Regions from separate parts of the Homo sapiens genome. Here all the other regions are linked to region 1. The links are contacts of gene promoters, found by promoter capture Hi-C in blood cells and fetal thymus (Javierre and others, 2016). All regions are on one chromosome and are shown on one strand. Each heading gives the region's core, a stretch centred on a gene start or on the middle of the fragment in contact. The rest is flanking DNA. Distances are from core to core; before and after follow the strand shown. Region 1 holds the start of LINC02478 (long intergenic non-protein coding RNA 2478). Region 2 holds the start of PSMD14-DT (PSMD14 divergent transcript). Region 3 has its middle 90 kb from the start of TANK-AS1. Region 4 has its middle 110 kb from the start of TANK-AS1. Region 5 has its middle 140 kb from the start of TANK-AS1. Region 6 has its middle 160 kb from the start of TANK-AS1. Region 7 has its middle 200 kb from the start of TANK-AS1.

Evidence for each region. Contacts are between HindIII fragments. The CHiCAGO score rates a contact against its expected background, and 5 or more counts as called.
Region 2: the fragment with the promoter of PSMD14-DT here is called in contact with the fragment with the promoter of LINC02478 in region 1 in 4 of 17 cell types (neutrophils, activated CD4 T cells, monocytes and 1 more); the score reaches 12.7 in neutrophils.
Region 3: a contact is called between a fragment that was not itself captured here and the fragment with the promoter of LINC02478 in region 1, in 4 of 17 cell types (M1 macrophages, naive CD4 T cells, total CD4 T cells and 1 more). The highest score is 6.4, in M1 macrophages.
Region 4: a fragment that was not itself captured here is called in contact with the fragment with the promoter of LINC02478 in region 1 in 6 of 17 cell types (fetal thymus, naive CD4 T cells, naive B cells and 3 more); the score reaches 7.2 in fetal thymus.
Region 5: a fragment that was not itself captured here is called in contact with the fragment with the promoter of LINC02478 in region 1 in 7 of 17 cell types (total CD4 T cells, naive B cells, total B cells and 4 more); the score reaches 8.9 in total CD4 T cells.
Region 6: a fragment that was not itself captured here is called in contact with the fragment with the promoter of LINC02478 in region 1 in 6 of 17 cell types (naive CD4 T cells, activated CD4 T cells, non-activated CD4 T cells and 3 more); the score reaches 7.2 in naive CD4 T cells.
Region 7: a fragment that was not itself captured here is called in contact with the fragment with the promoter of LINC02478 in region 1 in 10 of 17 cell types (total CD4 T cells, naive CD8 T cells, naive CD4 T cells and 7 more); the score reaches 13.2 in total CD4 T cells.

The regions. Positions count from the first base shown.
Region 1 is chr2:160,270,061-160,273,637 of GRCh38, forward strand. It overlaps LINC02478 (long intergenic non-protein coding RNA 2478), which reads right to left and starts at 1,835. Exons shown (of 2, transcript NR_103775.1): 1 at 1,660-1,835. It overlaps RBMS1 (RNA binding motif single stranded interacting protein 1), which reads right to left. Exons shown (of 14, transcript NM_016836.4): 14 at 2,091-3,577. RefSeq lists an enhancer at 43-652. The HindIII fragment of the contact is 15,786 bases long and covers 1-3,577 here.
Region 2 is chr2:161,252,950-161,256,526 of GRCh38, forward strand. It overlaps PSMD14-DT (PSMD14 divergent transcript), which reads right to left and starts at 1,694. Exons shown (of 4, transcript NR_110593.1): 1 at 1,636-1,694. The HindIII fragment of the contact is 9,629 bases long and covers 1-3,577 here.
Region 3 is chr2:161,068,228-161,071,804 of GRCh38, forward strand. No RefSeq gene overlaps it. Among named protein-coding and RNA genes, the nearest start is that of TANK-AS1, 90 kb to the right of the region's middle. The HindIII fragment of the contact is 3,681 bases long and covers 215-3,577 here.
Region 4 is chr2:161,050,304-161,053,880 of GRCh38, forward strand. It overlaps the pseudogene LOC100131736. Among named protein-coding and RNA genes, the nearest start is that of TANK-AS1, 110 kb to the right of the region's middle. The HindIII fragment of the contact is 2,218 bases long and covers 899-3,116 here.
Region 5 is chr2:161,018,831-161,022,407 of GRCh38, forward strand. No RefSeq gene overlaps it. Among named protein-coding and RNA genes, the nearest start is that of TANK-AS1, 140 kb to the right of the region's middle. The HindIII fragment of the contact is 3,986 bases long and covers 1-3,577 here.
Region 6 is chr2:161,002,350-161,005,926 of GRCh38, forward strand. No RefSeq gene overlaps it. Among named protein-coding and RNA genes, the nearest start is that of TANK-AS1, 160 kb to the right of the region's middle. The HindIII fragment of the contact is 2,921 bases long and covers 303-3,223 here.
Region 7 is chr2:160,956,585-160,960,161 of GRCh38, forward strand. No RefSeq gene overlaps it. Among named protein-coding and RNA genes, the nearest start is that of TANK-AS1, 200 kb to the right of the region's middle. The HindIII fragment of the contact is 4,861 bases long and covers 1-3,577 here.

The sequences.
Region 1 (3,577 bases), core at 585-3,084:
CTGTGTGCCCCGACAGGCTAAACCTCCGCCCAGGGGCTTCCCGATGTCGGCTGCAGCGGGTCTGGGTTTTCGGCCTGCAGAGCTCGCGTCTGACGGCTGAGGAACAAAACACCCTCCCTCTAGCGGCTCAAGCGCACACACCCTCTTGCCTTCCGCAGCCACCGAGCGAGTCACGGGAGACACTCTGGAGCCATTTTGCGGGGCTGGAATTCCTTCGCCCGGCGGAGCTCGGCGCGCACCCGTCAGCTGTGCCGAGGACCCTGCGCCCGGGGGGCCCCGCGGCCACGTGACCCCCATCTGGCTCTCGGCCTGGACTGAGGGGGCTGAGCTCATCGCGTTGCTATTCGAGGGGCAGAGACTGCCTGGCCTTCCTCAAATCCTGAGCTCCCGGCTCTCCTCCCTCCCCCACCTACTTGACATCTCAGGCTTTTTGTGGAAGGGGCAGGGCGATTGAGAGGTCGGTGACCTTTGTCCCAATGGCGCTGGCTCTTTTCCTTTTTGGCTACCCTAATGGAATGAGGATATAATCAGTCATATCTTAACATTCATTGAGCCCCGGCTCAGGCTGGGAGGCACTGCCTTTCTCCTAGTGAATTTTAAATCAGTATTTGTGGGATTTAAGCTCCAGCGGATAAACCTAGAGCCACTGGCCATGAAGGGTGTGGCAGTGGGGTGAAAAACGGGACTCCCGCCTCCACTCCCTGGCTTTCCTCATTCCAGCCACTATAGAGGGGAAAATACGTAGACCACAGAGCAACGGCCACACCCTCTTTCCTCTCCTCCAACCCCAGAATTCCACTTCAGTCTCAGAGCTTTCAGCTAGGTGGGGTTTATCCCCAAACATGCCACAACCCCTCTAGTTATATGGGAGCGGTAACTGTGAACCACCATCGCTGGCTTGATCCTCCCTTTTCCGTGGATTGGTGCTCCTGAGTATGTTTACCGGTTTCAGTACATAACACAGCCAGATAGAGGGCCGCGGACTTCAGCGGCGAGAAGCTACAACAAAAATAGGGTGAACAAAAACGAAGGTGCCCAGGAGCCTGAATTGCATTTCTTTCTTACCTTTGGTCATAGAAAGGAGCACTTAGGTGTTTGGCTGGAACGCAAAGTGAGACCAGAGCTTACATTCTTAGCAGCCTGGGTTTGTCTCGAGAGGCCATGCTTCTCTCCTCCCTGACATTTTGCTCTCAGAAGCACCAGTTAGCATCAGAGGAATGTTGTTTCCTTCTCTGAAACAGCCATCAAGTACCAGCGATTTCTTGGCTCCGGCAAGTTAAGTGCTCTGACCCCTCCCTTATCTAACTCACCCCGCACACCATCCACATGGCAGGGGACGCAGCCAGAAATGGAGCGGACTGCATCTTTTCCTTGCCCACTCTTTTTATCACCATGACAGAGCCACTGGACACCAGGAAATAAATACTGAACCACCACACTAAAACGTTTACTCCACTTTGGGCAGAAGGAGCCTATTTTGCATATTAAGTGCCTCCTATAAAGCAGTCAAGTGAGGGAAAGAGGAGTTCTCGCTCCTCCGTGAATGCTGCACGGGAGCCTCCAGTCGGGAACAGCTGAACAGGTAGCTCTGAAAGAGGACCTTGGTCATAAACGCATAGATAAGATTATCCCGAGGTTCTCGCCCACATGCTTCCTTACCACAGGTGGGAGGGCTGCTGTTAGGCTGTCTTCCTTGCTGAGCATTGACAAGCAATGAAATAGTTGAGGCGTAGCAGCAAGAAAGGAGGAAGAAAAAGGGCCTGGTTTTTTGGTCTTTAAGAACAGACCACTAGTGGTGTATTTTGGGCTGGATATTTGCTGAGCCGACCGTTGACGTGCTGAGCTGACGGTTGACGTGCTGAGCTGAGGGTTGACGTCTCTGGTCATTACACAGATTTAAATAACCAGCAAAAGTGGGGTGGAAAGGTTTTTCCAATTGTTTTCAAGGAAATGTATTTTGAGGATATATTGAATCTGACATAACTTTCAACTCACTTTCAAACCAATCTACTGAGCTGAAGAAAGAGATCAGAAATGAAATGAAATTCTGATATACACTTAATCGACTTAAAAAAAATTGACAGGAAAAATAAAATTTCAGATGTTTTTTATTCAAAGGTTCTCAAAAGAAATAAAACAGAAAAGCTAACAATCTGATCAAATGTACAGTTCAAAAATGTCTTTTGGCGTTTAACAACAAGTCCTAGGAAAGAAAACTACAGAGTTATCTTGAACCGGACAAATAAGTTACCACTGGCAAGTCTGTGGCACTAGTAAAACAAAAATAAAAAATTAACTCTCTTGATCATATAGATATCTCTATGAAAATCTTTTTTTTTCAATCTGTACAAAAGGTCTTTCTTCATAAATTAATTTTTTTATAATTTAATGGCTGTCTACTATGTGATGTTTAACTGATTTTTTTTTTTTTATGTACAGAGGTTATGTTTCCCAAATCTTACCCAGACGAGTATGGCACTTAGTTCAGACATTTCTAGCAGCAGATTTCCCCTCCCCTCTAACCGAGCTATCAAATTTCTGTCTTAACTAATGCAAAAATATCAAGTAGTGAGAGACCCAGGTTTATAACTGTACTAGGTACACAGAGGGTGCTGCGTTCAGTCTGGACTTTCACAAAGCAGTAATATTCCAGGGAGCATAGAACCAATAATACCACAACTTTAAAAAAATGAAACAAAAACAAAAACAAAAACACATTTCTCTTATGACTATGTAATTTTCACTAGAATCTACACTTCTCAGAGCAGCAAGGACTTTTGAAACTATGAAATGTCACTGACATCTATCATCAAATACAAGCATAAAATTTAAGAACTAAAAAATACTTGAAAGAAATAACTGCTTAGCCCTAGCTCCTGAGCTAGGAGGATTTGGTCTGTGGAAACAGGGAGGGCCAGCAACCTGTCCCAGCACAAAAGAAAATAGACTCTGAGGTAGATAACTGATCATACACAGCTGACCAGACAAGTACACAGTTTTGGAAGACAACTTAATTTACCATTGCTTTTAAAACATATGCAATTGCCTTAATAAAAGAGCTTTAATAACAGTGAATTATCTTATATGTACTAAAGTAGAAATAACTGTGTATTTATGAATCAGGAATTTCATAGTTTCAAAATTGGTTTTCTTTACACTTGAACACTTGTAGTGATGATGTAAAGTGTGGCACTGCTTGGATCCAAATCTTCCTTCATGCTTTTTTGTTTGTGTGTGTCCATACATCAATTAAAATTATAAAACCTAAATGCAAAGGTACAAAAAAGGCACATTCTCCTAACCGCAAACTGGTCCGGCAAAAATAAAGAGCACAGAAGATGTGATGCTGAGACAAGTTGGAGCTACTGGTTACTGGCTCTTCGGTCTTTGGTGAAGTTACCTTTAAAAGTGCCAAGTCATTTTTATTTTTCAAATTTACCTAATAGAGAGAGAGAGAGAGAGCTAGTAGCCAATCGTTTTGCTTCTATTCGTTATCTCAGCTTATGTTTGAAGATAAATCCTTACTTTTAGCTTTTGCCACTTTGTTGCAATAGCAACATTTTTCGGTTTGCCAGAT
Region 2 (3,577 bases), core at 444-2,943, 980 kb after region 1:
ATGGTCTCGAATTTGATGTTTGAAAAAATAATTGTTTTTACTTTTAGTTATTTTGCTTACTTGAAAAATTTTAAATTTCATATATTGTTTGCCATTTATAATATTGCTTTATAGTGTACTTATTCCTATACAACACCCATTTTTTCTGTTGGGGTGTTTGTATTTTTTTTATTTTTTATAAAGAAAGGTGTTTATGTAAAATTGCCATAGTAACACTATGCCATACATTTTACAAGGATCTTTCTAAGCTAAACTTTATCATATTTTGTTATTGACTTTTTCACTTTTAAATTGTCAATTTCTCAAGTGTTTTCATTAACATTTCTACCTTTACTTGTAGAAAATCTTCCTCATGGCCGGGCGCGGTGGCTCATGCCTGTGATCCCAGCACTTTGGGAAGCTGGGGTGGGTGGATCACGAGGTCAGGAGTTCGAGACCAGCCTGGCCAGCATGGTGAAACCCCGTCTCTAATAAAAAATACAAAAATTAGCCAGGCATGGTGGCACATGCCTATAGTCTCAGCTACTTAGGAGGCTGAGGCAGGAGAATCACTTGAACCCAGGAGGCGGAGGCCTGGGCGACAGAGTGAGACTCCATCTCTGAAGAAAAAAAGGAAAATCTTCCTCACAAAAGGTTAGATAAATATTCACTTTTATTATTTTTTATTGACTTCTTTATTTTTTTATTCAGACAGGATCTTGCTCTATCGCCCAGGCTGCAGTGCAGTGGGACGATCATGGCTCACTGGAGCCTCAACCTCTTGGGCTCAAGTGATCCTCCAGCCTCAGCCTTCAGAGGAGCTGGGACTACAGGCACGCATGACCACCTGCTAAAATATTCACTTTTGTTTTCTCCTACATATTTGATGATTTTTTTTTGTTTTCATTTTATGCATTTAGTGCTTTAATATGTCTGCAATTTATTTTGGTTTATCATGTGAGGAGAGGATTGGATTCTTGTTTTTCAGCTTGTCCCTGCAAGTTTATTGAATAATATAGTTTTTTCCTACTGATTTTAAGATTTTTGAATTTAGCTGAAAGGTTTTATCTTCTAGAGACCTCTCTTGAGATTAATTTCCACTCCACTGATTTCTCTATTTTTCTACCTTTATCACAATATTTAAATAATACAGTCTTATATCTAGTATTGCAAGTCCTTCAGTAGTTTTCCTTTCCAAAATTTTCTTTGTCATTCTTGACTATTCGTTCATATTATTCTGAATTACATTATTAAGTTAAAAAAAGATTCACTTAAGAACATATGTTTTGCTGTGAAAAAATACTCAAGATATATTAAGTGAAGAAAGCAAATTGTACAACAATATATATATTAGCCTTCTTAAAATTAAAAAAGTCAGAAAAAGCATAGAAGTGTGTGTGCAGGCCCATGTGTATGTGAGGCTGTTCCTTATTGATACATATAAACATTCTGGAAGATTGGCCAAAAAAAGTATTAACAATGGTTAGCTTTGGTTAATGGGAATGGACATTGTGGAGAAGAGGAAATTTTGCTCTTTACTATAAAGAAACTTCTTAGGTAGTTTGGATTTTCTACTATGAACAAGCATTAGTCATAAAATTTTGGTAAATGTCTTTGAAAAAAATATTTGAAAAAGATTATTAAAAAGCTACTTACACACAAAAGGACAAATACTGCATAATTCCACTCATCTGAGGTACCTAGAGTAGTCAGATTCATAGAGGCATCAAGTAGAATGGTGGTTGCCAGGAGCTGAGGGAAGGGGACAATGGGGGTTGTTGTTAAAGGTGTACAGGGGAGTCTCAGTTTTGCAAGATGCAAACAGTCTGGAGATGGATGGTGGTGATAGTTGCACAACAATGTGAATGTACCTAATGCTACTGAACTGTACACTTAAAAATGTTTAAAACAATATGTTTTATTTACCACAATTGTTTTTTTTGACGCAGAGTCTCGCTCTGTCACCCAGGCTGGAGTGCAGTGGCGCAATCTCGGCTCACTGCAACCTCTGCCTCCTGGGTTCAAGCGATTCTCCTGCCTCAGCCTCCTGAGTAGCTGGGATTACATGCACACGCCACCATGCCCGGCTGATTTTTTTATTTTTAGTAGAGACGGGGTTTCACCATGTTGGTCAGGCTCGTCTCTAACTCCTGACCTCGTGATCTGCCCGCCTCGACCTCCCAAAGTGCTGGGATTACAAGCGTGAGCCACCTTGCCTGGCCCTACCACAATTTTTTTAAAGCTATTTACAATGATTTACCCCTGGGGAGTTGGATTGAGGAGTTAGGATGTAGGCCAAGGACAATATTTTTCATTTAACACCTTCTGCATGGCCTGAATTTTTCAGGAGAAGCCCATATTATTTTCATAATAAAAAAATTTTAGGACTCTCTCTAGACCTATTCTGATTCAGAGGCTGCCCAATTAAAAGAAATTTAATGTCATAGCTAATTTTAAAAATTTATTGGAAATCCTACGCTGAATTACATTAAATTTATAAATGATGGGACAGCTTTAAAATATTTACTCACATAGAAAGTTTTCAAAAATTTTAATGATCCTTTGAAAATTTTGTAATTTCTTCATATGGGTCCTACACAAGTTCTGTAGTTTATTAGTGTATCCCTGGGTTTTTTATATCTGTATCTCTATCTACAGATTGATAGATATATATAATATTATATCAATTGCCTAATTGCTATTTTTTGTAAAATTAATTTGTCTCATTGAAGACTTTTTTGTAATTATTTTTTCCTCTAAATAACTGAAGGAAACTGTTGATTTTCATAATTTTCTTTACTTTAATCTTAAAAATAATCCTAAAGTAATTGGTCCATTCAAGTTGGTCAGTTCAAGTTCAAGCTAAAATTATTGGTTTGTGTAGAAATACTCTAATTTAGCCAATGTAACTGTTTTTTATTTATGTGATTTTTTTTGAATCATGTAAACATGGCTTAAGAAAATATCTATTATAAAGAATACTCTATAATATAAATGCCTGCAGAGTATAATACCTGTCACTCTCTGAAAAGGAATGCAAAGGAGTAATGAAGGAAAAATAATTATTAGTACGATAGGATTTCCATGAATAATTTATGAGAACCTAGACAAGGAGTAAACAATAGATATCACCCATTTTGAGTCCTATAGACTTTTTCCATATTTGCAGAAGATATTGCTTGTATTTTTTTCATTTCTAAAAGGAAAGTGTTTTGCTTTTATTTCTGACTATATATTATCATTGTAGAAAGCATTCAATACTATAGACAAAAAGTATTTTCTTATATGAAGATCAACCATAAACCTATCATCCAGATAAAACTACCATAAATAGTATTTTGCCTATTCATCAAGAATTAATTACATTAACATATATTTCACATATTTATAAAAGTGATCACACTGTACATACAGTTTTATAGCCTCCTTTTTTTCTCTTAATATATAATCACTGCTGTCTTTTAATGTCCATACAGATCTTCATAATTCTTAATGGCTATTGTTGAAACGTACATTTTATTTTATGGATGTTCCATAATTTATTTGATCAATCCCCTGTTGATTAACATTTAGGTAGTTTCAACTTTTTTTACTTTGA
Region 3 (3,577 bases), core at 805-3,304, 800 kb after region 1:
AAACACTTTTTGACATTTAGCAATCTTATACAAGAGATATGAAATTATCAGGAAGGAATGATAGTTTAACCCCTCCTGTGCTGCTCTGGGAAACCACACCCTTTCTTCTCTAGAAGGAAATGGATGTCTAATTTTGTCCCATGAAGTTACTATGGCTTCTCTAATCATCTGTAATTATGCAAGGTTTTCTAAAGAGTACAAGTATCTTCTTGGAAGCTTAAAGCAGGGGATTTTCTAGTCTAAAGAAGTTCTCAGTGAGCTAACTTAGATACATGCATTTAAGTGATGGCCAATTTACAAATTAGCTTTTCAGTGAGCCCTTTAACAAAGCACATCACTGTTTTGACTTTGTCAACTGTTTATGAAACCCCCAGACAGGTTTGATGTGATTAATCCTGGTGATGTTTTTAACAGAACTTTACTCGAAAATGCATTCACTTTTGAAGAACTATTATTATAATGTTCTATAGTTAGGAGTTTTCAGAGTCCAGATATATAAGTAGGAACATTTGAATATCTCTTTTAGATTCAATTATATGGTTAATAAACAAGTCTTTTAAGAATGACAATAAAATGGTTTTCAAGATATGTACTTTCTAAACAGCTGCCATTTTACCCGTAGTATTTCAGTCCCTTGAGGTCTGAAATGATGACTCATTTGACTGTGTTAGCCCAAAGTTGTACAATTAAGGGAACAAATATTTCACAAATACTTCACCTTGGTTAAAAAAAAAGTCTTTAATTTTATTGTCACAGTATAAAATTTAATTTATGCTAATGACATTTCTATAACAAAATCTGCCTTTGATCTAGCCATTCCAAATCTAGGATTATGTCTACTGTAAAGTCACATATATATAGAAATAAATGTAAGAATATAATTTTCAGGATTGTCTACATAGAAAAAGATTTGAAACAACATAAATATCTATTGATAGGGACCTGGGTAAATAAATTATAATAGATTAAAATAATAGAATATATGTTGTTGTTAGGTGAATAAAGCAGCTTTGTATATAGTGACATGAAACAATCTCCAAGACATACTGTTAAATGAAAAACATAAAGTATAAGAGCAAACAAATAACCAAACCAAACACACACACACACTTGAAAATTATAGCGGCCAGGCACAGTGGCTCATGTATGTAATCCCAGCACTTTGGGAGGTCGAGGTGGGTGGATCACTTGAGGTCAGGAGTTCAAGACCATCTTGGCCAACATGGCGAAACCCCGTCTCTACTAAAAATACAAAAATTAGCCAGGCATGGTTGGGTGCACCTGTAGTCCCAGCTACTCCAGGGGCTGAGGCAGGAGAACTTCTTGAACCCGGGAGGCGGAAGTTGCAGTGAACAAAGATTGCGCCACTGCACTCTAGCCTAGGTGACAGAGTGAGACTCTGTCTCAAAAACAACAACAACAGCAAAAAAAAAAAAAAAAAAAACAAAAAAACAAAAAACAAAAAAACAGAAAAGAAAAGAAAATTATAGCAACATTGACTATCTTTGGAAGGAAACACAATAAATTGATAACAGTGGTTATATCTGAAGGGGAAATTTGAGGATTAGGGGACAGGGATAGGAAAAAATACCTGTTTTTCACTGAAAAACTATTTTGTAACTTTAGCCATTTGTATTATGTATACATATTACCTACCCAAAATATTTTAAGATGTGAATTATAATAATGCATTAAATTTGGGAGGAAAGAAAAAAATGCGATGTATTATGGGCGTAATATAACATAATATTCTAAAAGTACTTCAAAATTTCCAGACTGTTACTTGGTTAACTCTAAATCAGTATTTAACAATATAAATCACAATTTAATGTCTAATTATCATGATGAAAACAGCTTTTAAATGTTGAATGTGTATATCTGTATTCAAATACAAGCTGTTTTGACTTTTAACCAACATACCAGAACTGGGAGTGATTTTATTGCATAATTAGAAAACAAACTGCAATATATTTTAAGATGTTTTTAAAGATAATGGGAAGCATTTTTAAATGTTCAAGAGAAATGATGTTTTAATTCCTGTACATTTATAAGAATGGAAATTCTATTTGTGTTGGGCACCAGAGAATGTATAGTTCAGTATGTACCTTGTCATTTTGTGCTGCAAGCATCCCAAACCTGATATTCCTGGGGCCTATTTCCTAAAATGGACAAGAATCGATTATGTGACTGCTCCAGGGCTTGCAACTGAGGAACAATATATGGTGCATAGCCCTATAAATCCTCACCCTGGTGGTCAGGACCTATTCTGGGAAATAATTTGAAGCAGATAACTTACTTTCAGACATCCCTTCTCCCCTTCTTCAGAGGAGATTCTAGTCTTTCAAAAATAACTTTTCCATCCTCAAGAACTCTGCATCAGCCAGCTCCCCAAAACCATCAGATGAACAGACTAAATTATGCTATACTTAATGTTTATATGCATTTTAAAAGAGAACAAAATTATGCCTAGAATTCACATAAGGAGTAAATTCTGACAAAGAAATAACAGGCTTCAGTAGGAAATATTGTGGAGAGTGGATGAGGGAGATTGACACTGAGGCAGACTGAGACCAACAATCACACCACATCAGCCTGCTGGCCTTCTTGGGCAATGCTGGATTCACTTTAGAAACCCACATTACTGCTTTGTGCAAGCAGTAATGGCATGCCAGTCATTAGTAATGCTTACCATATACTTCTAGTTCTCCCCTTTCTGGACCATGATAGGGTTCTATTTCCTGGCTCCTTTGTCAGGTGGGGCCACATGACTATCTCAGCCAGTGTTTGGGGAAATGGGTGGTGTACGACACTTCTGAGCCAGAGCATTTACTTACTCTAGGCCAGGGTGAGAGCCTGCAGAGCTATCTTTCCTCTGCCATGAAGACCAGCAAGAGTCCATAGCAGGTGCTCTGTTGAGAGCATCCTGGAGGAGGAAATAAACCTATGTGAGCAAGAAATAAATCTTTGTTTTTTTTAAGTTATTAACACTTGGGGGTTATTTGTTGCCACAATATAAACCAGCCTCTCCTTACTGATACATATGGGAGATACAGTATACATGCACAAGTGACTAAGAACAGCCTTCAGGGTTACAAAGGTAGTAATGACTGCTAAGTTATCACAACTGTAAGTTTGACCTTAATTTTATAAAAACATTTTCCACTTGCTCATTAAGGCCTTTTCCCAAGTACAAATTTTGAGTACCTGCCTGGAAGGTGGTAAATTACACAATTTGGAGACTGAGGAAATGAGACGCAATGTCTCTCTTTCTTTCTCTTTCTCCCTCCCTCCCTCTTACAGTTTGATGAGGAATTATCAATAAGAAAAAAAACCCTGAAAAGTGGATATCTAAACAACTTAGCACAAGATATTTTATTAAACTGCTATATAGAAAACAGTCTATTCATGAGAAAAGTTTATATAATTCCAAGACACTTTAAATTCCTCAGTTTGTCACATTGACGCTACAGAGGAGGTCACATAGTAAATTGTTATAGTCGGAGAAAATCTCAGAAAAACCGAACTTGATTCTTAGAATATCACCATCCCATATTTCAATAGCACTTTCGAATTTGAA
Region 4 (3,577 bases), core at 758-3,257, 780 kb after region 1:
TTTACATTTTCTACTATTTCTTTAGACATGTCTCCATTTGGGGCTTCTGACAAGCCCACAATCATAACATGTTTTAGGGATTTTTTTAACTTTTCCATGCCCCACTGTTTCTTCTGACACATTTCCATTTTGAGCCTCTGATAGGCTCACATCCAAAGCCCCCGGTGGCTTTAGGTTTCACTGCCACCATTTGAAATTCTGCCTCTCCATCTTCTTGCACAGGAGTGTCATCCGTAGGTAAGATGTGTTCTTGGGGAGACGCCTTCACATCTTCACAGCAGCACCACTGTATGGGTCCTCCACTCTCCAAATGGCTTTTCATTAATATGCATGGCACTGAACAAACTTGCTTTATGGACCTCATATAACCAATCTGAAAGGTAGCAAGTTGTAAAATATCCATTATATTGTTCAGTATTTAAAAACATGTCTGTGAATTTTATTTATCCCATAATTATCCTCATTGCACTCTTACAGATAACCAACAGATTTAGACACTATTCAGTAAGAAAACATTGGGTTTTTTTATACCAATTGCTACCAACTTTTATTACAAATTGCATCTATTTTAATACAGAGTCATTCAGGGAACATCTACTGAGTACTGACTATATGGTTAAAACTTTCCACTTGCTATGAGTAGTTTAACTGAGATTAAAACTTGGTTTCTCCCCTTCTTCTAAGAACATAAAGCCTCAGTGATCTGGCTATTCCCTAACTTTCCAGCTGCAATTCCCACCAATCCCTGTCCACACAAGATACACACCATGAGGTCTGGGTTCTGTGACCTTCTTCATGATGTCTTCGTTGCCTAAAATTGTTCTATCTCCTAACTCCCCCAGCCTAGTTAATCCCAATTCAATCTTTGGAACTCAGTTTAATGTCACCTCATCCAGGAAGCTTCCTTACCTGCCCCTGCTTCACTTAGACTACCTTATCCCCTAAAGATTATGACTTTTTTGAGGGCAGGAATGAGATCTTTTTTGGTTTTGTAACCTTGGGACCTAAAATTGTACCTGGCACGTAGTAGAATCTCAATCAATACCTGTCGAAAGGGAAAGTTTTAAGCATAGTGGTTGTTAAGTAGCTTGTAAGAAAGTCAAAACATGGATGCAAATATTAAATATCAGCATAAGATGTATCACAGGATGGAATAGGTATATTTTTTTTCCTGGAGCTGCTGTACAAACTACCACAAATGTGGTGGCTTAAAACAGAAATGTATTCTCTCACAATTCTGGAGGTCAGAAGTCCAAAACCAAGATGCTGAGAGGACCACACTCTTTCCAAGGGTTCTAGGGTAGATTTCTTTCAATGACTCCTTCCTAGTTTCTAAGGGTGGCTGCCAACCCCAGTGTTGCTTGGTTTGTAGCTTCAGCATTCCAATCTCTATCTCTTTCTTTGCATTGCCTTCTCTTCTGTGTTGTCTGTCTTATAAAGATATATGTGATGGCATTTAGTGCCCATTCAGATAATTCAGGATAAACCCCTCCTCTCAAGATTCTTAACTTAATCACATCTTTTGCAATATAAGGTAATATTTGCTCTTTTACCACATAGGGTAATATTCACAGGTTCCAGCGATTAGGATGTGTACATATGTTTTCAGGACCACCATCCAATACACTGTAGTATGTGTAAGTTAGTAAGGAATCCAGGAAAAGTCATGAGAATTCAGAAGGAAGAAAGCACAATGTGCCAAAGTGACAGCCACATGGTCTTAACACTTTGAAGTGTCAATGTAATTGGTAGTTATCACCATGGCTCCTTTGAAGTAGCCCAGTGATGCCAATTTCCTTGAAGAAGAAAGTGAAGAAAGAAAGGATGTGTGCATATTGCAGAAAGACTAGTGATGAGGCCAAAATTGGGATTTAACTCTCTTCTCTTCAATCCTTGATTTATTGCCTATACTCTTTTACCATCCAAAAGAAAGACAGATAAATGGCAGACACATCACAGAGCTGCCACCTATTATTTAAATGGCAGATTTTCAGCTTCTTCTTTATTCCTGCTGAAGTTCTCATAGCAGAGATGTTAATGCAATACTCTGGACAAAAGAAGTGCAGTATCAAAGCTGGGGGCGTCCCACAGTCAACAAATACTGACTCAGCATCTGCCCTTAGCAAAATATTGTGAGGAATGTGAAGAATAATTAGACATGTATTCATGCTCAAGGAGCTACCATCTCATAGAATACATGTGGTCAGGTAACAAGCAGAAGGCAGTAATTCTCATGGCCCAGATAGAAGACTGTGGGAGTTTAGAGAGAGAGAGACCATTCCTGGCTGCAGTCATCAGGAAAGTCTTCATGGAGCAGATGGCATCAGAACAGGGCATTGAATGGAAAGCACTTTAATAAGTAGAACTGGAGGTGAAGAAGACAGAGGAGTGATCTAGGGCAACTCAAGCAGGATGGAGAATTTTTTTTTTAAGTGTGGAGATGAAAGAATGGAAAGTGTGTTGGGAAATGAGACATTCAGGGTATATGCATAGAACCATGGGAGATAAAAATGAAAAGAAAAATTGTTATATCTGGTTCTTGACTGTCAAGCAAATGATACGGACTTTCTTAACTAGGCATGAAACTGTCATTAAAGATATTTTGAATAAAGAAAAGACATAATCAGATATAATCAGAGTTGTTTGAGAAGATCACTCTGGCAGTGGTGTGAAAGATATATTAGAAGGCAGAAGAGGCTAGATGCTGGAAAATTATTGCAATAGAACAGACGAGAGCTAAATAAAGGTCTTGATTAGGGAGGCCGCCATGTGAAAGGCATGTGAAAAAAGAAGTGAGAGCAATTTCAAAGAAAATTCAATAGGATATAATGGCTTATTGGAGATATGGGATTGAAGACATAGGAGACATCAGAGATGAGTTTGAGACTGAAATATAGTAATGCAAAATAGTGATGACTTTGGAAGAATCTGGAAAGTCAGGAGAATGGACACGTTTAACAGCAAAAATGATTAACCTAGTTTACAAATGTTAAGTTTCAAGAACCAGCAGGATACAGATACTAAGAAGGACATGAACGTAAGAATCATTCCCATGGAGAAAATAATTGAAGTCACAGAAATTTATACCATCACAAAGAAAGGGGAAGAATTCCTAAAGCTTAAGGAATGTCCATCATAATTAATGAATGGTAGAAGAACAGAAGCTAGCCAAGAACATCAAGAGCAAGAAGTGATTTGACCAAAGAAGAAACAGGAATCCAAATGCTGAAGTGAACAGAATTTAAGAGAGAGGAGAACTTCAAGGTGGGGTCACTAATATCAAGTAGTTTAAATTCCAAAAATGTATTATCAAGGGGGAGCTGATTATAATGTTGACACAGTCTTGTACAACATAATCCTAAATGATGAAATCCTGAAAGATCAAAATCCCTAAAGTCCCAGAAATGTAATTTGGGAAAAAAAAATGTTAAAAGTTCTTTAAAAGACATTTCACACTTTAAAAGGGGGGTTTATTTGAGAAACATATCACAACAGAACATTTCATAGGCTACTTCACATAATAATATAGGCAATAATAACATACATATTGTTGCAAGCAAATGCTCTCATATACTGA
Region 5 (3,577 bases), core at 335-2,834, 750 kb after region 1:
TTATCATTCAGTCAGTGAAAAGAAAGCACTTCTGAGAATGATCTCCTCTTCCTTCAGATGTGTGAGAATCTGAATGGTTTATTTCTACAGAGTGCTATGTATTGATTACACTACATTGAATATTATGTGACGCAGTAAAGCTGTTACATGCCTTCTGATTTCTTTGCGTTCTGTGTGGTGCTTCAACAAATTCTAATTTTTCAGATTGTGATGAAGCAATGCCTTAAATTGAATTATATAGCTGGTCTATAATTGAATATTAGGTTCCAATCCAGAAAGAAGCAGTCCAAAAAGACTGTGGTAAATACCAATTCTGTGAGTGACCACATCCTCATCCTATGGATGGAATACTTTTTAAAAAATAGGGATATTCTTCTTCTGGGTTGAAATCCCACCATACTAACACCTTCTAATAACAAAGGGCTAATATCCAGAATCTACAAAGAACTTAAACAAATTTACAAGAAAACAAACAACCCCATAAAAAACTGGTCGAAGGATATGAACAGACACTTTTCAAAAGAAGATATTTATGCAGCCAACAAACATGAAAAAAAGGTCATCATCACCAGTCATTAGAGAAATGTAAATCAAAACCACAATGAGATACCATCAATGAGAGAGCATCAGTGAAAACAATTTTAGAGATACAGGACTCCCTCAGGAGCATCTGGAAGTACTGATTCAGTTACGGAGAATGCGAGTTCCATAAGAGTGAACACCATGTTCTCATTGTTCATCATTTCACCTCCACGGCCTAACATAATTGTATATGAGAGTTACTCAATAATTATCATTGAGTAAATGAAAGAAAAACTTCAAATGTCAGAAGAACAAATCAGAGCAGATCGTTGGCTCTGATGGTCCTGGAAGAGCAGGGGGTAAGGCAGCCAAGGTGCTGCTGAGCTGGGCCCCACACAGCCATCCAGTGGTAAGCTGGAGTTGGCTCTTGTTGACTCTCAGGAGTCAAAAATGTACATCTTTTCCCAGCTCTGCATTCAGTCACTTTAAGCTGGTAGCTTGAAATTGGCCATCGCGGGACTATTTACACCATAGAAATCGGCAAACACCATAAATCAGACTTTTTTTTAGAGATCCAGTTTATTTGTTTTTTTAAGAGAGCTACACCACTAGCATAGCTACCAAACTTGTTTTACCCAGAATTTAACACCAGGAAGTCCTCAAAATCCTAACCAAAACAGGGAGGAGAAGGAGAGAGCTGGGCCGGAGAGGATGATGATGGGGTATTCCATCCTCCTTACAAGATAGTGAAAGAGCTTCTGATTTATGATTGGAAAAGTTAGGCTAATCTGAGAAGGTATATCAATACCTCCAAGAATTCTATTTTTGTTTTTTCTTTCCAGCTCATGGGAACTCATAATTTCAAATGTTGAATTGGGACCCTAGATCCCCTTCTGGCCTAAATTCAATGACACTCATTAATTGAACATACACTTACTGAGTGCACACCATGCACTAGGGATAAAAAAAAAACTATGATAGATCAGTTTCAAATTCCCCCCACCCTTCCCTGTATCTACCTCTTTTGTAAAGTAACATTTTAGCTTCCCCATTAAGGAATAAAGTTTATTTTCTCAACCCTTGAATCTAAGCTGGTCTTGCAATTTGCTTTGACCAACTAAATGGAGGGGAATACGGATGCCAATTCTGAACATACATCTCAAGAGGCCTTGCTGTTGTAACCTCTGCCTCTGCCTTGAAAATAAGCCAGTGTCCCCTATGGAGAATGAGAGAGTATGTGGAATAGAGCCAAGTCATCCAAGTCAAAGTCACCCTAGATCTTCCAACCGCCAATCAATGCCACAGCTAACTGCAAATGCATGAATGAGCCCACTTGAGATCATTGAACCTCACCCAGATCAACAGAACTGAGTCTAGCCAACTGTGCAGATTCTTGTAAAATAACAAATGGCTAAGGTTTATTTAAGAAACTTACTAAGGCCAGGCACAGTGCCTCACACCTATAATCCACCACTTTGAAAGGCCGAGCCAGGTAGATCACTTGAGCCCAGGAATTAGAGACCAGCCTGGGCAACATGGTGAAACCCAGCCTCTACAACAAAATACAAAAATTAGCCAGGTGTGGTGGCACACACCGGTAGTCCCAGCTACTCTGGAGGCTAAGGTGGGAGGATCACTTGAGCTGGGGAGGCAGAGATTCCAGTGAACCAAGATCATGCCACTGCACTTCATTTTGGGCAACAGAGAGAGACTCTGTCTCAAAAAAAAGAAAAAAAGAAAAAAAGGAAATTTACTGATGTAAAATGAACCATTTTAAAGTGAACATTTCAGTGGCATTTAGTACATTCACAATGTTGTGTGAGCATCATCTCTATTGAGCTCCAAAATATTTTATGCCAAAAAGAAACACTCCACTAAGCAAATTTCTCTCCATTTCCCAATCCCTTTAGCCTCTGGCAAACACCAATCTGTGTTCTGTCTCTACAGATTTATCTATTTTAGATATTTCATACAAATGGAAAAATAAAATAGATGACCTTTTGTATCTGGCTTCTTTCATTAGCATAACGTTTCTGAGGTTCATCCATATTGTAGCATGTATGAGTCCTTCATTCCTCTTTGTGGCTTAATAATGTGTATATACACAGGCATACTTCATTCCTCTTTGTGGCTTAATAATGTGTGTATATATATATATATATATATATATATATATATATATATATAGGCATACTTCATTCCTCTTTGTGGTTTAATAATGTGTATATATACAGGCACACTTCATTTTCTTGTGCTTCACATTATTACACTTTGCAGATGCTGCATTTTTTTCAAATTGAAGGTTTGTGGCAACCCTACATCAAGAAGTCTATTGGCACTGTTTTTTCCAACAGTGTGTGCCCACTTTGTGTCTCTGTGTCACATTTTGGTAATTCTCACAATATTTCAAACTTTTTTTTCTTTTTCTCTCTTTTTTTTTTTTTTTTTGGAGACAGAGTCTTACTCTGTCACTCAGGCTGGAGTGCAGTGGCACGATCACGACTCATTGCAGCTCCGATCCCCTGTGCTCAAGCAATCCTCCCATCTCAGCTTCCGAAGTAGCTATGACCACAGGTGCACACCACCATGTCCAGATAATTTTTTTTTTTTTTTTTTGGTAGAAACGAGGTCTCGCTATATTGCCCTGACTGGTCTTGAACTCCTGGCCTCAAGCAATCCTCCCACCTCAGTCTTTCAAAGTGTTGGAATTATAGGCATAAGCCGCGGTGAACAGCCGAAACTTTTTTATTATTTTCATACCGTTTTGGTGATCTGTGATCAGGGATCTTTGATGTTAATATTATAATTGTTTTGGGTGCCACACACCATGCCCATAAAAGATGGCAGACTTAATCAATAAATGTTGTGTGTGTTCTGACTGCTCCGCTGACCAGCCATGCCCTTATTTCTCTCCCCCTCCTCAGGCCTCCCTATTCCCTGAGACACAACAATACTGAAACAAGGCCAATTACTATCTCTACGTTGGTCTCTAAGTGCTGAAGTGAAAAGAGGAGTTGCACATTTCTTGCTTTAAACCTAAAGCTAGAGATGATCA
Region 6 (3,577 bases), core at 513-3,012, 730 kb after region 1:
ATTGCCTCACTCGGGAAGCACAAGGGGTCAGGGAGTTCCCTTTCCTGCTCAAGGAAAGGGGTGACAGACGTCACCTGGAAAATTGGGTCACTCCCACCCGAATACTGCGCTTTTCCGACAGGCTTAGGAAAGGGCGCACCAGGAGAATTATATCCCACACCTGGCTCGGAGGGTCCTACACCCACAGAGTCTCACTGATTGCTAGCACAACAGTCTGAGATCAAACTGCAAGGCGGCAGCAAGGCTGGGGGAGGGTCGCCCGCCATTGCCCAGGCTCGCTTAGGTAAACAAAGCAGCCTGGAAGCTTGAACTGGGTGGAGCCCACCACAGCTCAAGGAGGCCTGCCTGCCTCCGTAGGCTCCATCTCTGGGGGCAGGGCACAGACAAACAAAAAGACAGCAGTAACCTCTGCAGACTTAAATGTCCCTGTCTGACAGCTTTGAAGAGAGCAGTGTTTCTCCCAGCACGCAGCTGGAGATCTGAGAACGAGCAGACTGCCTCCTCAAGTGGGTCCCTGACCCCTGACCCCCGAGCAGCCTATCTGGGAGGCACCCCCCAGTACGGGCCGACTGACACCTCACACGGCCGGGTACTCCTCTGAGACAAAACTTCCAGAGGAACGATCAGACAGCAGCATTCGCGGTTCATGAAAATCCGCGGTTCTGCAGACACCGCTACTGATACCCAGGCAAACAGGGTCTGGAGTGGACCTCTAGCAAACTCCAACAGACCTGCAGCTGAGGGTCCTGTCTGTTAAAAGGAAAACTAACAAACAGAAAGGACATCCACACCAAAAACCCATCTGTACATCACCATCATCAAAGACGAAAAGTAGATAAAACCACAAAGATGGGGAAAACACAGAGCAGAAAAACTGGAAACTCTAAAAAGCAGAGCGCTTCTCCTCCTCCAAAGGAATGCAGTTCCTCACCAGCAACAGAAGAAAGCTGGACGGAGAATGATTTTGACTAGTTGAGAGAAGAAGGCTTCAGATGATCAAACAGGAGGAAATTCAAACCAAAGGCAAAGAAGTTGAAAACTTTGAAAAAAATTTAGACGAATGTATAACTAGAATAACCAATAAAGAGAAGTGCTTAAAGGGGCTGATGGAGCTGAAAGCCAAGGCTCGAGAACTACATGAAGAATGCATAAGCCTCAGGAGCCGATGCGATCAACTGGAAGACAGGGTATCCATGATGGAAGATGAAATGAAGCGAGAAGGGAAGTTTAGAGAAAAAAGAATAAAAAGAAATGAACAAAGCCTCCAAGAAATATGGGACTATGTGAAAAGACCAAATCTGCATCTGATTGGTGTATTTGTTTTTTATTTCTCCATCCTGTACCACTCCCATCCATCTAACATCAGTGGAAGGAATAGCATATTGTCTGAATTAGCCTTTTCGAAACTTGTAGGATTTCAAGGTATAAAATCAATGACTGTGAACAATTCTTATAACATCTGAGTGTTTGGAAACTCACTCCTCTCTGCTTCTCTTCTATTTAATTTTGTACAGATGCCATCCAAGATTAAAATCAAAGGGTGCTCTTCACTTTATTTTGGTGGTTCTTCCATGGACTGAAAACTTTCTAGAACCAGAGTTCTCTTAGTTTCTCCTACTCAAGTACACTGATGAATACCCTCCATTTTGTAGGTAGCTAATTCTGAGGGCTAATTTGTGTGAAACACACAGTGCTGTGAGATAGACATGAGTATACTCTCTTTAGTGATAAGGTGACTTGGCTCAGAGAAGTCAGATCACTTTCCCAAGGGCAGACAGCTCATTAATAGCCATCAGAATTCAAACTGTGGCCAACTGAGACAAAGTCCCGTGCTCTTTCCCATCAAGATGGCCCCACGACCTGCCTGTGGCGTGTTGTTCATTAAGTCTTAGAGACATAGGCTGTGTCATTCCCGTTTTAAGGGAGAATCTTACATCAAGAAAGAAAAAGCCAGGAAGTACATATAAAGGTCAGCATCTCCCTGTTCTAAATTAAGGAAAGCTATTCTCATTGATCCTTGGAAGCATGAATGAGAGCTATCCCTGAGTCAGTGAGGACTGGCAATGCCTCTCTTCAGTGATTCTCTCTAAGGTTGTACTCTTCTTCCCAGCCATAAATAAGTTATGAAGGTAAAATTTCTCTACTTACCCGGAGACTTTGTAATAAAGGAAAAAGAAAGAGAATTCAGACAGACACTACATTATCAGAAACAACAAACTGCCCCCTTGTGGAATTACTGTATCGTGGGAGCTCAAGAAAGCCACTCAAATGACAATTTCTATAAACTGTGATTCAGAATTGGGTTTGAAATGTTATGGCTAAGGTAATATTAGCAATATTTTCTCCTTCATATTTTAAGCTGAGTGAGGTTGTTTTGTTTTGTTTTGTTTTGTTTTTGCCTTGTTTGTTTTTTGGCCCATTACTTACACTCTTAGGATGAATGACAATAAAAAGTTCTTTCTTTTGGAAGTTTTGAGATCTTTAATAGAATGTGTAATCTGCCTTTAAAAAATCATGCCAAGGTGATCTGTAGTTATTTTTCCATTAAAAAAATCTAAATTTACTTATAAAAAGCAGCAGCTTGTGGTCAATTAAGTAATTATTCAGCTAATATTCACTTGCCCTTTTTGGAGGAATATTCTTCCCTTCCCCGTTGTTGAGTTTAACCATGTGGTTTGCTATGGCCGGTGTAAGGTGGGTGGAAGCAAGTGTCCCAGTCCCAAGCCTAGGCCTTAAGCAGTGTCATATGTCTCTGCTCACCTCTCTTTTACCCCATCTTTGCCTCAAATAGCTACTGACCCAAGAAGTGCTATGGTAGTTCTGCATCCAATCCACAGTTTTCAGTGAAGCCCAACTAAACACAGTTAGACTAGCGAAGCTCCAGCTGACAAGCAGAGGAATAAATGCTTGCACCACTTAGTTTTGGGGTGGTTTGGAATGCAGCATTACTGTGGCAATAGTTGACTAATACAAAGACTAATAACACAGAGTGAAATTTACATCCTAGTCTACATTGTGTAAACAACACATCTACCTCTCAAGTCTCAGGAAATCATAGATATGTGGTCAGCTTGGTCATGAAGACCACAGTGAAGAATGAGAAGTAAGCAAGACTGGTCCCTGACTTGCCAAAAGAGATACCCTATGGTCTGCACAGGAACACCTGCACACTTGATTCATAGGAGACACTTTCACAAAGAGTCTATTTACCATTATTCTAACAAGCTTTGTTATGTAATTTTGCAGCCACTTTATAGTAGGCAGGGAGAAATTGCTAGAAGCAAACTTACTGATAACAAGGGAAAAATAACTGTACCTGTGAGAGAGGAGACAAAAAAAACACAAAAAGACAACACAAGAATTTTAAATCGTAAGAATTTAAAATCAATTTCCCTGAATGTGTCAGTTTTCCAACCAGTAGCAAATAAGATAGGGAAGTTAATAATCAATTGGAAAAAATTACTTCAAGAATTGATTAAAACAGTAGTTCTTGGTGTTTATGGATTATAGTTCATTTTGAAAAACTTCTAAAAATAATGGATTCTCTCTTCAGAAACTTATATGTGAGAAAAACCCC
Region 7 (3,577 bases), core at 376-2,875, 690 kb after region 1:
AGGTTTGTTGGCCCTGGCAGTTCCTGGAATCTTTCCAGAAATATAGCCAGAGGGCCAGAGTGGTGCTGCCAGTCATCCTCTTGGGATCCAAGCTCTGAGAGAGCCAGGAGATGGCTTTCCAGAGCTCCACCCTGCCAGCTCTGATTCACATCTGTGTTCTCCTCTCTGGGGAAACTCGCAGGGTGGAGTCCAGAGGAGGGAAGGAAATCTTTGGGTCTGCTCTTTATCCATTGTCCCATCATTCTGGCGACTGTCAGTCTTTATTTTTTTAAACGTTAAACATATAAACAGCATTGCTTCATTTTTCTTTATAGGCGATAATGCTCCATTATGAAGAAAAAAAACTTGTTTCTTGCTTCCAATGGAAACGAGATGTTTACTTTTTACTTCAAACTGAGAGATTTCAGAATATGCTAAGTGAGTTCTGCCTTTCTGACTTAAGTTATCCTGTTTTTCATTTTCCTATTTTCCCACTGACAGAGAGTGCAATTATTGCTACCCTTTTTGACTAGCTAGCTGACTCTTTCTCCTAAAAACGTGAATTATAACTAGAAAAGGCTACTTGGCGGGCCTGTCTATGGTGAGCTCTTGCCTGTGAGAGTTAACTAGAATGCTCCTAGTAATATTTCGTTGTAATTTTTCTGTTGTCGTGTTCTCAGAAGCCCCAATCCATCAGTCTATTCAATTGCCTCCACTGGACAACACAGCAAAATTCATTCCAGGAGACTTCCTTTTTAATAGTTTTCACTTTGACCCATCTTATTTCTGTGAGTTATGCTGAAATGTACACATATATACAACTCACTGTTGATTCCCAGCAGCCAGAATGTCGCAGAGGTGCCACCACCATATACATTTATGCATGTAAATGTATATATACATATAGACCTGGTAAGGTTCATGCACTCAATTATCCGGCATCGTTGATGTCAGGAACTCAGAATTGCTTTGAGGAATTCAGAATTCTATTTTTAGACTTTTTCATAAATGGAAACATAAGTGACAGTCATGCTGTAGAATACAAGATGTTGTCCTTATATTAACTAGGAGAACAACATGGATGCTAATATATATAGTTCACTGTAGTTTGGTATTATTGATATTCCTTTCCTTTTCTGTGTTCAGCTTCTTCACCAAATTAAAATGCTTTGCAAAGTGTGGCTTGTTTATCATCTTCTTTCTCAATCATTTAGAATGTGGGTGTGCATGTTCCTGTTTCCTATTTACTAAATTCAAACATAGAAATTTAAACATGCTTAGAGGCTAAGACAGAGGATAATACCTCCTGGTGTTCCTAACACATTATCTCTCTCAAAACCATTTTATTACCAAATAACACTCAGAGCTTTGTGGAACAGAAAGTATGCTTCTTTATAGAGACAATAAGTCCTAGAACTCAAGCAAGTTGTTCCATGGTCATTGATAACAAGTATAACTCAAAAGTCCCATTACTGTCATATGGTTTTTTTCCATAAACAAACTGATAGAAAACTAGCAAACTTGACTGAAAAATGTAAATTCTTGGGAGAATAATTTTTCATGTAAAAACCTACCGCTAATACCTGTTCCACACTGTCCTTAATGCTAAGAAGGAATAAGATGTTCCTCTATATATCTTCATTCTAAATAATTCATAGTTCTTGATACACACATGGACCAAGATCTAACTTTTTTTATTAAATACACAGTGTTCTCAAAGCAGGTTGTTGGCTTTTGAGGCCATGAAAGTTTTGGGAAGATTTTATCTGTGACACCTGCATGCTATACTTAGCCATATGGCAGTGTACCAATGCCAGCGAAGATGTTTGGGAAAGTAATCGCACCACAGGTGACCCAAGCTCTGTCCTATGTAACTCAATTCTGCTGGACCACTAGTGTGAAGAGAATGGATGATGCCAGAATTCTGAAAAAAGTATAGAATCTCTAGATTAGAAGAGACCTTAAATTTCACCCAATCCCCACCACACTGATGCAAGCATCCTTGAAAAGCATTTTAAAGTAAGACAATATCACAAACTCAGGAAGCATAATAGCAGACAAACCACCACCATCTATAAATAAAATGTTTTAGGTACACCAAAGAGAATGTGCTTGAAACTCAGAAAAGTCATGCTATAAAGGTTTTGCTCCTCTTTGAAATTTGAGAGGTAATAGTTCCTCCAATGCTTTCCAATACTTCTGCAATTCAAGGGCAAGCATTACAGATTTCCGACTGCTTCTTTCCCACTCCCTTATTCAGCAATATTTATATAATGCCTACCATGTGAAAACTAATCTCTCAAAGTTAGGATTAACACTTATGGCCACCACAAAAGTGATTTTTGTTCCCATAAGAACTTCCATTCAAACTTTTAAAAAATCATGTCCCTCATAGGTGGCCATAGATCATAAGCACTCCAACTTTTAAGAAAAAAAAATTCCATAATAACAAATACTAAAGGAGAATCTCATGAAGAATGACAAAAAATTTTAGACATTTTTAATAACTCACTAGTTACTGTTACTAGAATAAATAGGCACTAAAATGTAATAAATATCAGAGCCCTAAAATAAAATACCAGGGTATTGTTCAGTATGAGTAAAGAGAGGTGAGAATAAAGAGAATGGGGTAATGAAATCATGTGAACATGTCAAAGAAGGTGCTGAAGAAAGTTTAAATTATCAACCAGTAGGAAGGTTATGAAAGGTCAAAGGGCAGAGAAAGGGAATTTCGTGAAAAGGTTTTCTGGAGCAAGATGAAAATTCCCATGATCCTCCCTGTCTCCAGTAGAAGGAGTTGCTGCCACTTCTCTCAGAAGTATGTGTCCCCTGAATTTGGAAGGCTTGGTCATCAGGAACTAGACTCAACTGATAAATTGCAAGCAGTCCATGGGAGCATAGAGATGGCTGCAGCTGGGATGTAAATGCAATTCACTCCCACATTGGGTCAAAAAGGCATGTCTCAGGGACCAGATGTACAGTCCATGGTAGAAATGCCAGGCAAGGAGCATTCGAAATAGGAATCTGTCTAAGAGAGCAGCCTGCCAAGGTGAAAGGACCATAGGAATAAGGGATTGATACTAGAACATCAGGGGGCATCACGAGTGGTCCCAGCAAGTATATGTACCCTGAGTCTTAGACCCTTATCATTAATTTCCATAACTCTAACTTCCAGGCATTAGATCAAAGCCCATTGTGTCAGGTGGGCATAGTTGTTGGTGTTTACTCTCTGAAGTGCCTCGCCTCCAGAGGCTATGTATGGAATGTAGCAGTAATGAGATAACTAAGAATGACAAGTCTGGCCAGGCATGGTGGCTCACCCCTATAATCCCAGCACTTTGGGAGGCCAAGGCAGGTGGATCACCGGAGGTCGGGAGTTCGAGACCAGCCTGACCAACATGGAGAAACCCCGTCTCTACTAAAAATACAAAATTAGCTGGGTATGATGGCTCATGCCTGTAATCCCAGCTATTCGGGAGGCTGAGGCAGGAGAATCGATTGAACCTAGGAGGCAGAGGTTGCAGTGAGCTGAGATCGTGCCATTGCACTCCAGCCTGGGCAACAAGTGTGAAACTATGTCTCAGAAAAAAAAAAAAAA